Linked DNA regions of Homo sapiens: region 1 is linked to region 2. Evidence: promoter capture Hi-C in 16 types of primary human blood cells and fetal thymus (Javierre and others, 2016). All regions are on one chromosome and are shown on one strand. The core of a region is centred on a gene start or on the middle of the fragment in contact, and the rest is flanking DNA. Distances in the headings are between cores, read along the strand shown. Region 1 holds the start of PC (pyruvate carboxylase). Region 2 holds the start of PITPNM1 (phosphatidylinositol transfer protein membrane associated 1).

Evidence for each region. Contacts are between HindIII fragments. The CHiCAGO score rates a contact against its expected background, and 5 or more counts as called.
Region 1: a contact is called between the fragment with the promoter of PC here and the fragment with the promoter of PITPNM1 in region 2, in 1 of 17 cell types (non-activated CD4 T cells). The highest score is 5.5, in non-activated CD4 T cells.

What each region holds. Positions count from the first base shown.
Region 1 is chr11:66,955,212-66,959,731 of GRCh38, reverse strand. PC (pyruvate carboxylase) reads left to right here and starts at 1,349. Exons shown (of 23, transcript NM_001040716.2): 1 at 1,349-1,410. RefSeq lists silencers at 912-1,271, 1,592-1,691 and enhancers at 1,342-1,391, 2,555-2,934. The HindIII fragment of the contact is 4,821 bases long and covers 589-4,520 here.
Region 2 is chr11:67,503,305-67,507,342 of GRCh38, reverse strand. It overlaps PITPNM1 (phosphatidylinositol transfer protein membrane associated 1), which reads left to right and starts at 1,980. Exons shown (of 24, transcript NM_004910.3): 1 at 1,980-2,155; 2 at 3,122-3,240. The coding sequence starts at 3,163. CDK2AP2 (cyclin dependent kinase 2 associated protein 2) reads left to right here. Exons shown (of 4, transcript NM_005851.5): 4 at 331-846. The coding sequence ends at 398. RefSeq lists silencers at 1,684-2,313, 2,524-2,683, 2,694-2,813, 2,894-2,993 and enhancers at 2,772-3,521, 3,522-4,038. The HindIII fragment of the contact is 23,305 bases long and covers 1-4,038 here.

The sequences.
Region 1 (4,520 bases), core at 100-2,599, 550 kb after region 2:
CCTCTTCCAAAAGAATAGCTGTTACTAGCATTAGGCATCAGCCATATCCACACGGAAAGGTAAAAACCTCAGGCATTTGGGAAGGGCTGCCCCCACAGATCATTCACAAGTAAATTCTTGCTGGCCTCCCATAAACAAGGACAGGTCAATTGTAGCTTCAGGTCTACAATCTAAGTCTAGCTCCTAAAAATTCCACAATAAGAATGTCATTACAAGCTTATTTTCCCAGGTGCAGAACAAAGTCAAAACTACCTACTCAGAGACATCTGCATAACTGACTCTTCCTTTACTCTCTTTTTCTCTTCAGACATTCATCTCATCTTACGTAGATTTACCGGGCATTAGCTAAAGTCCCATAGGAATGTAACTATTGTCCTAATCGCCTACTTGCCCTTCTTCCTACATGCCTTCCCCTCATTCCCCCTTTAAGGAAATGCATAAATACTAAACCTCCCGAAAACCTCTTCGGAAAAACAACCACGGATGTGTCTGTGGTTCGTGTTTTTCCCGAGCACGCCCTCAAACTGGATTAATAAGCCTCGATGACAGAGACTTATGCCTCAGTCACTTGTTCCACTTGTCAAAGCTTTCCTCTTTGACAAGTGTCTTGGGTCTTGTCAAGTGTCTTGTGTCTCAAACAAGGCTTCCAAACCCCCTAGGTCCTGAGTAGCTTCGCTCTGCAGATGACAAAACCGAGACTCAGAGGTTAAGTTGCTTGCCCAAGGTCACACAGACGTACTGTAGACCCCCATCATCATCTACGCAGCTGTTAAAGGACATAGTCATGTAACCCGTGTGGCACAAGCGCCTTCTCCTTCCTCCTGCCCTTCGCTAACGTTAGCTTTTCCTGCGACCTCTTCTCCGCTAGCCAGCGCGTATCTGCGTCTAGCCGGGATGCCTGAGCCCCAGTGCGAACTGTTGTGCTTGCAGCTTCGGGAGACACGTGCTACTCGGGTGAATGAATCGAACGTCCCCACCCCCGCCGACAGCCAATAACTGCGAGCCACAGCCCGGCCACTTCCGCCTATTGCGGGCGTCGGCTAGGGTCCGGCGGCCCACGTGAGGCTCCGGAGACAAGGGAGTAGGCGGTGGTGCGCCAGGGGCGGGCTCTCCCAGCCTCGCCACTTATCCAGGCGCTCGCCGGGGACGGGAGGGGCGGGGCTGACGTGGGGCGCCAAGGCTTAAACGTGACGGACAGGCGGGCACAGGGAGGAGTCCAGAGCCTAGGGGCGAGGAGTGACGGAGAACACTGCCCAATAACGGGAGGGGTTGGGCTGTCTGGGCCAATAGGAAGTCCGTAAGGCGGGGCCGGGACTGCAGCAAGTTCGGTTGCACGGAGACCGCAGCTGTTCTCTGTCAGTGGAGGCAGCAGCGGTAGAGGCGGCGGCGAGGACTGGCGACGGCGAGGAGGTGAGTGTCCGCCGCGCTCCGCACGGTCCTCTTCCCGCGGCGGGTCGGAGCGGGTGGACGTGCGCCGGCACCGCTGCGAGGGACGCTTATGTAAGGGTCGCGCGCGCAAAGGCGGCGCGGGCTCCGCGAGTGACGGCTGGAGGAGACAGCGACGGGCTGTGCGCGGTGCGCGACGCGACGCAGCGGACGGCGCCCCTCCCCCTCGCGCGGGGGCTCGGCCGGCTGGACCCGCCCCCGGACCCGCCCCCGGCTGCAGCCCCCGAGCGCCCCTCCGCAGCGTCCGCCTGCGGGCTGCCTCATTCTTGCTCTCGGGCCCATTTTGCAGATGGAGAAACTGACTAAAGCGCCTCGCGCGAGGTCCCTGAGGGTTCGAACCCAAGTCTGTCAGGATCGGGAGCCCAAGTTGTCCCCATCGTACTGGATGTGGCTCAGCTCTGCAGGAAGCCGCGGCGTGTAAGGCGAGGGCTTTCCTTGTTCCTTGCTCTCGCACTCCGCCTCCCGTAGGATCCTCTACTTTGTTTCAGACGGGGAAGCTCCAGGCGCCCAGACGCAGTGATTCGCCCAAGGCCGCTCATTCAGGAGGTGGGGCTGGGCTCAGCCCCTTATTTCTCCAGCTTTTAGTAGTTTACAAAGCGCATCAGAGTCGGAAGCCAAGTCCCTAGGTCCCTGGCAACTTTGAGATTCTTTTGTTTTCTTTTCTTTTTTAGACAGGGTCTTGCTGTCACCCACCCAGGCTGGAGTGCAGTGGCGCGATCTCGGCTCACTGCAGTCTCGACCTCCCGGGCTCAAGCGACCCTCCTGCCACAGTCCCCCAGTGCTGGGACTACAGGCGGGCGCCACCACGCCTAGCTAATTTTTGTATTTTTTGGTAGAGACGAGGTTCCGTCATGTTGCCCAGGCTGGTCTCGAACTCCTACGCTCAAGCGAGCGGCCTGCCCTGGCTTCCCAAAGTGCTGAGATTACAGGCGTGCCTCGTCTGAAATTCTAAAAAATCAGATTGTGTCTTTATTTTGTGAGAAGAGGTAGGCCTGGGCTCCTTACCCGTTCTCCAGCTGAGAAAACAGGCTCAGAGAAGTACCAACACTTGCTGATGACAACCAGAACCTCCAGAGTGCCTGCCATCTGCCTCCCTATTGCTCCCGTACCCACTGCCACCATCAGCCCTGGCTGGCCTCCCCCAAGGCACCCTTTCCCTGTATGTGATGCAAACACTTGTGCTGGGGGTGGATGTGCTCAGCATTTCTCTCACTTGCAGCTACAGCTTCCTGCCTGCAGGCTCTCCTTAACTGTTGAACTCTTAATCACATTCTTTTGCACACCTACAGTGTTCCTATCCCTACACTGGGCCGAGAGACAGCGTGGGCGATGAGGTCAATCCTTGTCCTGCAACTGCTGACAAACCCATTGGGGGAGAGAGAAAATAAACAAAACCTAAGCAGCAAGGCAGCCTGCTGCAGATGTTTGTAGAGAGCCTAGTGGGTGAGGTATTGGCCCTAGGAGGACATGGAAGAGGAAGTTCAGTAGAGGCCAGTAAATCACAGCAAACCACACACTAAAGCGAGAGAGAGGAGAAATGGCCTGGAAGGGGATGGGCTTGGGAAGGCTTCGTGGAGGAGGTGAGTTGTGGACCTCTTTTTGATGCCGCTGCAGTGGAGAAACAGTGATTGGATTTCAGCAGCTAGAAAGTTTTATTCTGGAGAGGTTTTGTTAAAGAGGTTTTTTTGTTTTTGTTTTTTGAGATGGAGTTTCGCTCTTGTCGCCCAGGCTGGAGTGCAGCGGTGTGATCTCAGCTCACCACAACCTCCGCCTCCCGAGTTCAAGCGATTCTCCTGCCTCAGCATCCTGAGTAGCTGGGATTACAGGCGCATGCCACCACACCTGGCTATTTTTTGTATTTTTAGTAGAGATGGGGTTTCACCATGTTGGCCAGGCTGGTCTTGAACTCCTGACCTCAGGTGATCCGCCCACCTCGACCTCCCAAAGTGCTGGGATTATAGGCATGAGCCATCATGCCTGGCCAGTTACAGAGGTTTCAAGCAATTAGAACTGGAAGAGGAAGGCTGAGGAAGGTGGAAGGAGAATGTGGGGGAAACAGCTTCACTGTTGGGTGTAAGAAACTTGATTGGTCACTGGGAAGAGGCCTCTACAGGAGATGTAACCAGGTGAGGGCACTAGGATTTGCTAAGGTGCAGGTAAGTCAGTGACTGGAAACCAAACTGAGGAAGCAAGATTAGATGCAAAGGTAGACGGGGCTGGGCGCGGTGCTCATGCCTGTAATCCCAGCACTTTGGGAGGCCGAGGCGGGTGGATCACCTGAGGTCAGGAGTTCGAGACCAGCCTGGCCAACATGGTGAAACCCCTTCTCTGCTAAAAATACAAAAACTAGCCAGGCCTGGTGGCGGGCACCTGTAATCCCAGCTACTCAGGAGGCTGAGGCAGGAGAATTGCTTGAACCTGGGAGTTGAAGGTTGCAGTAAGCTGAGATCACGCCCCTGCACTCCAGCCTGGGCGACAGCATGAAACTCCCTGTCAAAAAAAAAGAAAAAAAAAAGCCCAAAAGGCAGACAGGGCTCTGAGGGCCCAGCTGCAGGCCTGAGCTGCAGATTGTGTCCCATGGTGTTCTGGTAAGCTCCCTGAAAGCAGCCGTCATTTGTTTACTAATGGCTCCTTCACCCTGCTGTGCCCTGCTCTTAGGGAAGGGGCTTTGTTCACTACAGTTGCTCAGTATCTGCTTTTTGAATTAATTAGGCTGTCATCCAAAGTTTCCTCAGTTTACCCCAATGTACCCTCATGTGTCATAACGCCTTCTGTCTTTCTACTGAAGCCCGCTGCAGCCTGGCTGACTCGGTTCCCTGTGCCAGTCCTCACCTCCAAGATCTCCCCTAGAAGGTTGTCCCTGGTAGCCCACAGTAGGTCCCCCAGGCCCTTTTCCCTTTTTTGTCCTGCTCCTTGCTTTCACCCGGTCTCACTTCCAGTGCCCCAGGCACTGTGATAGGTACCTGTCCTCCCACCACCACTCATGGGGGCTCTGGGACCAGTGGCAGGGCAGGACCTCAGATTCACTACTCTTATCCCAAGCCACAGTTCCCTGTGTCCCTCTTCCCTCTGTC
Region 2 (4,038 bases), core at 731-3,230:
GCTCAGGAAACCGACACTGGACTATCCTTCATGAGGGAAGGAAGGACATCTGGAGGCCACCTGAGCCAAGCCTAGAGGATGTCCAGTATTACTACCAGAGAGGTGTTTTGAATCGAATTGAAATTGAGTCCATTTCCAGGGAAGAGCATGGGAATTTGTATTTCAACAGGGCAACCTTGAGGATTAACCAAACCTCTAATTTCATCTAGCCGTCATTAGATTTGAATTTCTTTTGCCGAAAGTGGAAAGGGAGTGGGGAGGCAGGGGTCCTCCTCTGGAGGGCAGTGGGTGGGGCTGTGGAGGGTTGCTGAGACCCCACCCCACCCCCAGGTATCATCCATGCCCGGGCCCTAGTCAGAGAGTGCCTGGCAGAGACAGAGCGGAACGCCCGCACGTAACAGGAAGCGCCTCGGCCTCAGCGTCTGGACCTATCCGGCCACTGCAGAGCACCCGCTTCTCCCTGGCCTTCATCCCGAGTTGCACTAACCATCCTGGGCTTCCTGTCCTGTGTCCCTTGGTGGGTCCCCTCCAGGAACCAAGGAGTGGCCCTCCAGGTGGCAGCACTAAGGACACCCCCCCACAACAAGAGTTAGCAGCGAGGTCCCCATGAGTCCCACCCATGACCTGCCGACAGTGTTGCCCACCGGAACTTTTGTGGCCCCTACCGCTCAGCCCTTCCCAGCACTTCTCCCACTTTGTCCCGAGCCTCCTTCTCCCCCAGCAGGGGCACAGGCCTGGCACCTCCCTGCCTTGTGTCCTGAGCCATAGTGACTCTTTTATCTGTGTGTCTTTTGCTAAATATGCCCTTTTTATATTAATAAAAGATGATTTGGAGTTGTGCTCTCAGCTCTGAGCCTTTCTGGGTCTGGTTCTTCAGCTAAGCCTGGGTGGGCCAGGCAGAGACAGGGGAAGAGGAGACTATGGATGGGGAGGGTGTGATTAAATGAGGTTTGACTTGCCTCTGTAGGCCATCAGCCTTTGGTGGGACCTGGGCCCTCTCCGCCCCAGCCGTGGCGCTGAGAGCCCTGGGCCTTCCTGTGGTGCCACCAGGGGGCAGCACAGGGCCTGGCTGCTTCCACAGCCCTTGGCGCTGTGGGCAGCCTGGGCCTGGAGGGCGCTTCCTCTGGATTGGCGGTGATGCCTGGCAGCATGGAAATGCCAGTTCACGTAAGCCACTCCCTCACACGCCCTAATGCCCTGACAACACCCCAGCCTCTGAATCAGCCCTGAAGGTCTCTGACTTCTCAGAGAGAAAGGGCACTGCTGCTTCCAGCACTTGGCCTCAGTGTCAAGGGGAGGGGCTGGCGGGGTGCTGCCGTCACTGCCCCAGCACCTTGTAGCAGGCTGGGTGGGATCCCATGAACCCAGCCTTGGGGTGCCTCGTGAGGCCTTTGCCCAGACTCCGGGTGGCTGGGTGACCGGACTTGTGGACCCGGAAGGCAGAGGTGGGGGAGGCTTTGTGGCACCATGCAGGGGCTAGCCCAGCCACTCACAGTGACAGCCCGTTTCTGCCTGGGCGTGTAGCTGGGTGACCATAGAGGCCTGGGGCCCTGGAGCCGAGCCCAGCCCTAGGTGGAGGCATGTCAGAGCCACCAGCTTCTGGCTAGACTGGTGGGGAGGCATTTCCTCAACCCTGGGTCCCAAATCTAAGGACTGCAGAGAGTGAGAAGAGGAGAGTGGGCCTGGGACCCCCCATATCAAACCACCCTGTGACTGCACACAGGAGGGCTGGGCTAGGGTGGAGATAGGAACTAAGAGTCTTTGGGGACCCCAATCAGCACAGAGGGACTAGGAAGAGCCAGAATTTAGGCAATGGCCTTTTTCCCACTGCCCGGGGGAAGGAAGGCAGGGGCCTCCCTCCCTGCCTCCTCCGCTGCAGGCGGGGCTGCCCGGACCCCGCCGGGGTGGGGAGGGCCAGCCGGGCCCAGGAAGGGGGCGGGGCGGCCGCAGTGACGCGGCGGGCGTCGGGGAGGGACTGCAGGGGCGCCGGCGGGCGGATCGAGAGGAAGGTCGGGGCCATGGGCCGGCACTGCGCCTCGGGAGGGTCCGGCCACCGCTGGAACCCGAGGCCGGGGCTGGGGGCGCTCCGGGCTCCGACCCACGGGCCGGCCGGCCCTGCCCGGGCTGGGTGAGGGGCGCCCGCCTCAAGCTAGAGGTGAGCCGGGGCGTCGGCAGGCGGGCCAAGAGCGCGGCAGGGGACCGGGACGCCGGCGAGCAGAGGGAAGTGGGGACAACGGGGCCTCTCGCTTGCTCGCGGGGTGCGAGTGGGGGATGGAGGGGTGCCTGCAGCGGAACCTCGGTGCCAGTCTGGGGCGCAGGTGGACGGAGCGGGTCTCCAGGGCCATGGCCCGTGGGATACCAAGTGGAGCCACTCTGGCCTCAGCCTGAGGAGGGCTCACCCCCTGGGAAGAGGACGGAGTGGCTGCCTAGGCGCGTGGAGAGCCGGCGAGGGCCAGGGGTCCAGGAAGGATGCTGGGAGGGGGAGGTCGAGGACCCGGCTGCCCAAGAAGGCAGATCTGGAGGGCGGAGGAGATTACCGGTCCCGGAAGGTAGGTTCGGGTGCAGGGCGTGGGGAACCCTGGCAGAGATGCTGGGCGCACTGGGCCACTCCGCGCAGAGACACTCGGGGAACAAAGCTCTAGGTGGACGTCCGAGAGTGGGGGACTTGGGACCCCGCCGACTCCGGGAAGGGGATGCAAGGGGCGGGTCCCCGAGGGGCCGGTCGCGGAAGGCGGGCCCGGAAGGAGGGGCCCCGGGGCTTCGGGGGCGCGCCCAGAGGGATGCCGTTTCCCGGGGTTAGGACGCGGTCGCAGCGGGAGAGGTGAGGTGGCCCTCCCGCCCGCCGGCCGGAGCCTGGCGCTCCGGGGGGCCCGCGTCAGCGCGCGGTTGCCATGGCGACGGGCGGGCGGGGGGCGGGGGCTGCGCGGAAAAGAGGTCAGCGCTCAGCCTCGCTGCGGCTCCCGGCCCCGGCGGCGCGGGCGGCGGTGCTAGGCTCGCCTCTGCCTCCCTCGTGGCGGGCCCGGACATGGGGTCCCGTGGCCTGAGTCCCTCGGCCGGCGCGCAGGGCTCGGGGCCGCGCGCAGCCTCCCCGCACTGACTGTCGCGCCGTGCCCTGCGCCAGGAGGAGCGGAGGCCGCGCGCGGCCCGCCGAGCGCCTTCAGGATGCTCATCAAGGAATACCACATTCTGCTGCCCATGAGCCTGGACGAGTACCAGGTGGCCCAGCTCTACATGATCCAGGTGAGGGCGGCGGGGAGAGGGCACCCGGGCAAGGGGTGGAGCCCTGCCGACCCCGCCAGCCCTGCCCCGGGGCTGGGACCGGCTGGGAGCCCGGAGGAGGCAAGAGAGGCCCCCCTTCAGATGTGGGAATGGGGAAGGACTGTGGGAAGAGGGGCAGGAGGGCCGAGTGGTGCTTCCCATCCGCTAAGTGCCCAGCCCTCCTCTGATCTCCTGTAATCCTCCTCAGGATCTGTAATCCCATCGGGGAAGGAAAAAGCGCCCAGGAGGCGGCAAGAATGAGGAGGGGGGCCTCCGCGGCAGAGGAAGGCGGGAGGGGGTCTGGAGAAGTGGAGGGTCCTGGCCATCCCTGGAGGTCAGGGAGATGTGGTGAGGACCAGGTGTCAAACCTGGAGCAGGGACAGGGCAGCAAGGATGGGAGGGCGAGGAGGCTCTGGTGTAGGGCAGTGAGAAGAGTGGGCCAGGGCAGGCCCTCAGCAGTGGCCGGGTTGGTGCGGGGCCTGGGGGAGTCTGCTCCAGATCTGTCCCCAGCACAGCAGGACCAGAATCTCATAAAGCAAGAGGGCCCGGACCCCGCCTCGGGCTTGAAAGGGCCATCTGAGCCCCGGAGCAATAGAAGGCAGGATCTGGGGGCTCTCAAGCTCTGAGGGGTGTGGCGGAGCTGGGATTGGGAGGCGGCCAGGGCCTCCCAGAGAGGGAGGGGGCCAGGGTCAGGGCCTCTGAGAGCTGGAGGCCCCTTTTCCTCTCCTAGTCCCTTCTTCCTTGCCAGCCACCCCGGCCTCCTTGCCACCTGCCAGCACA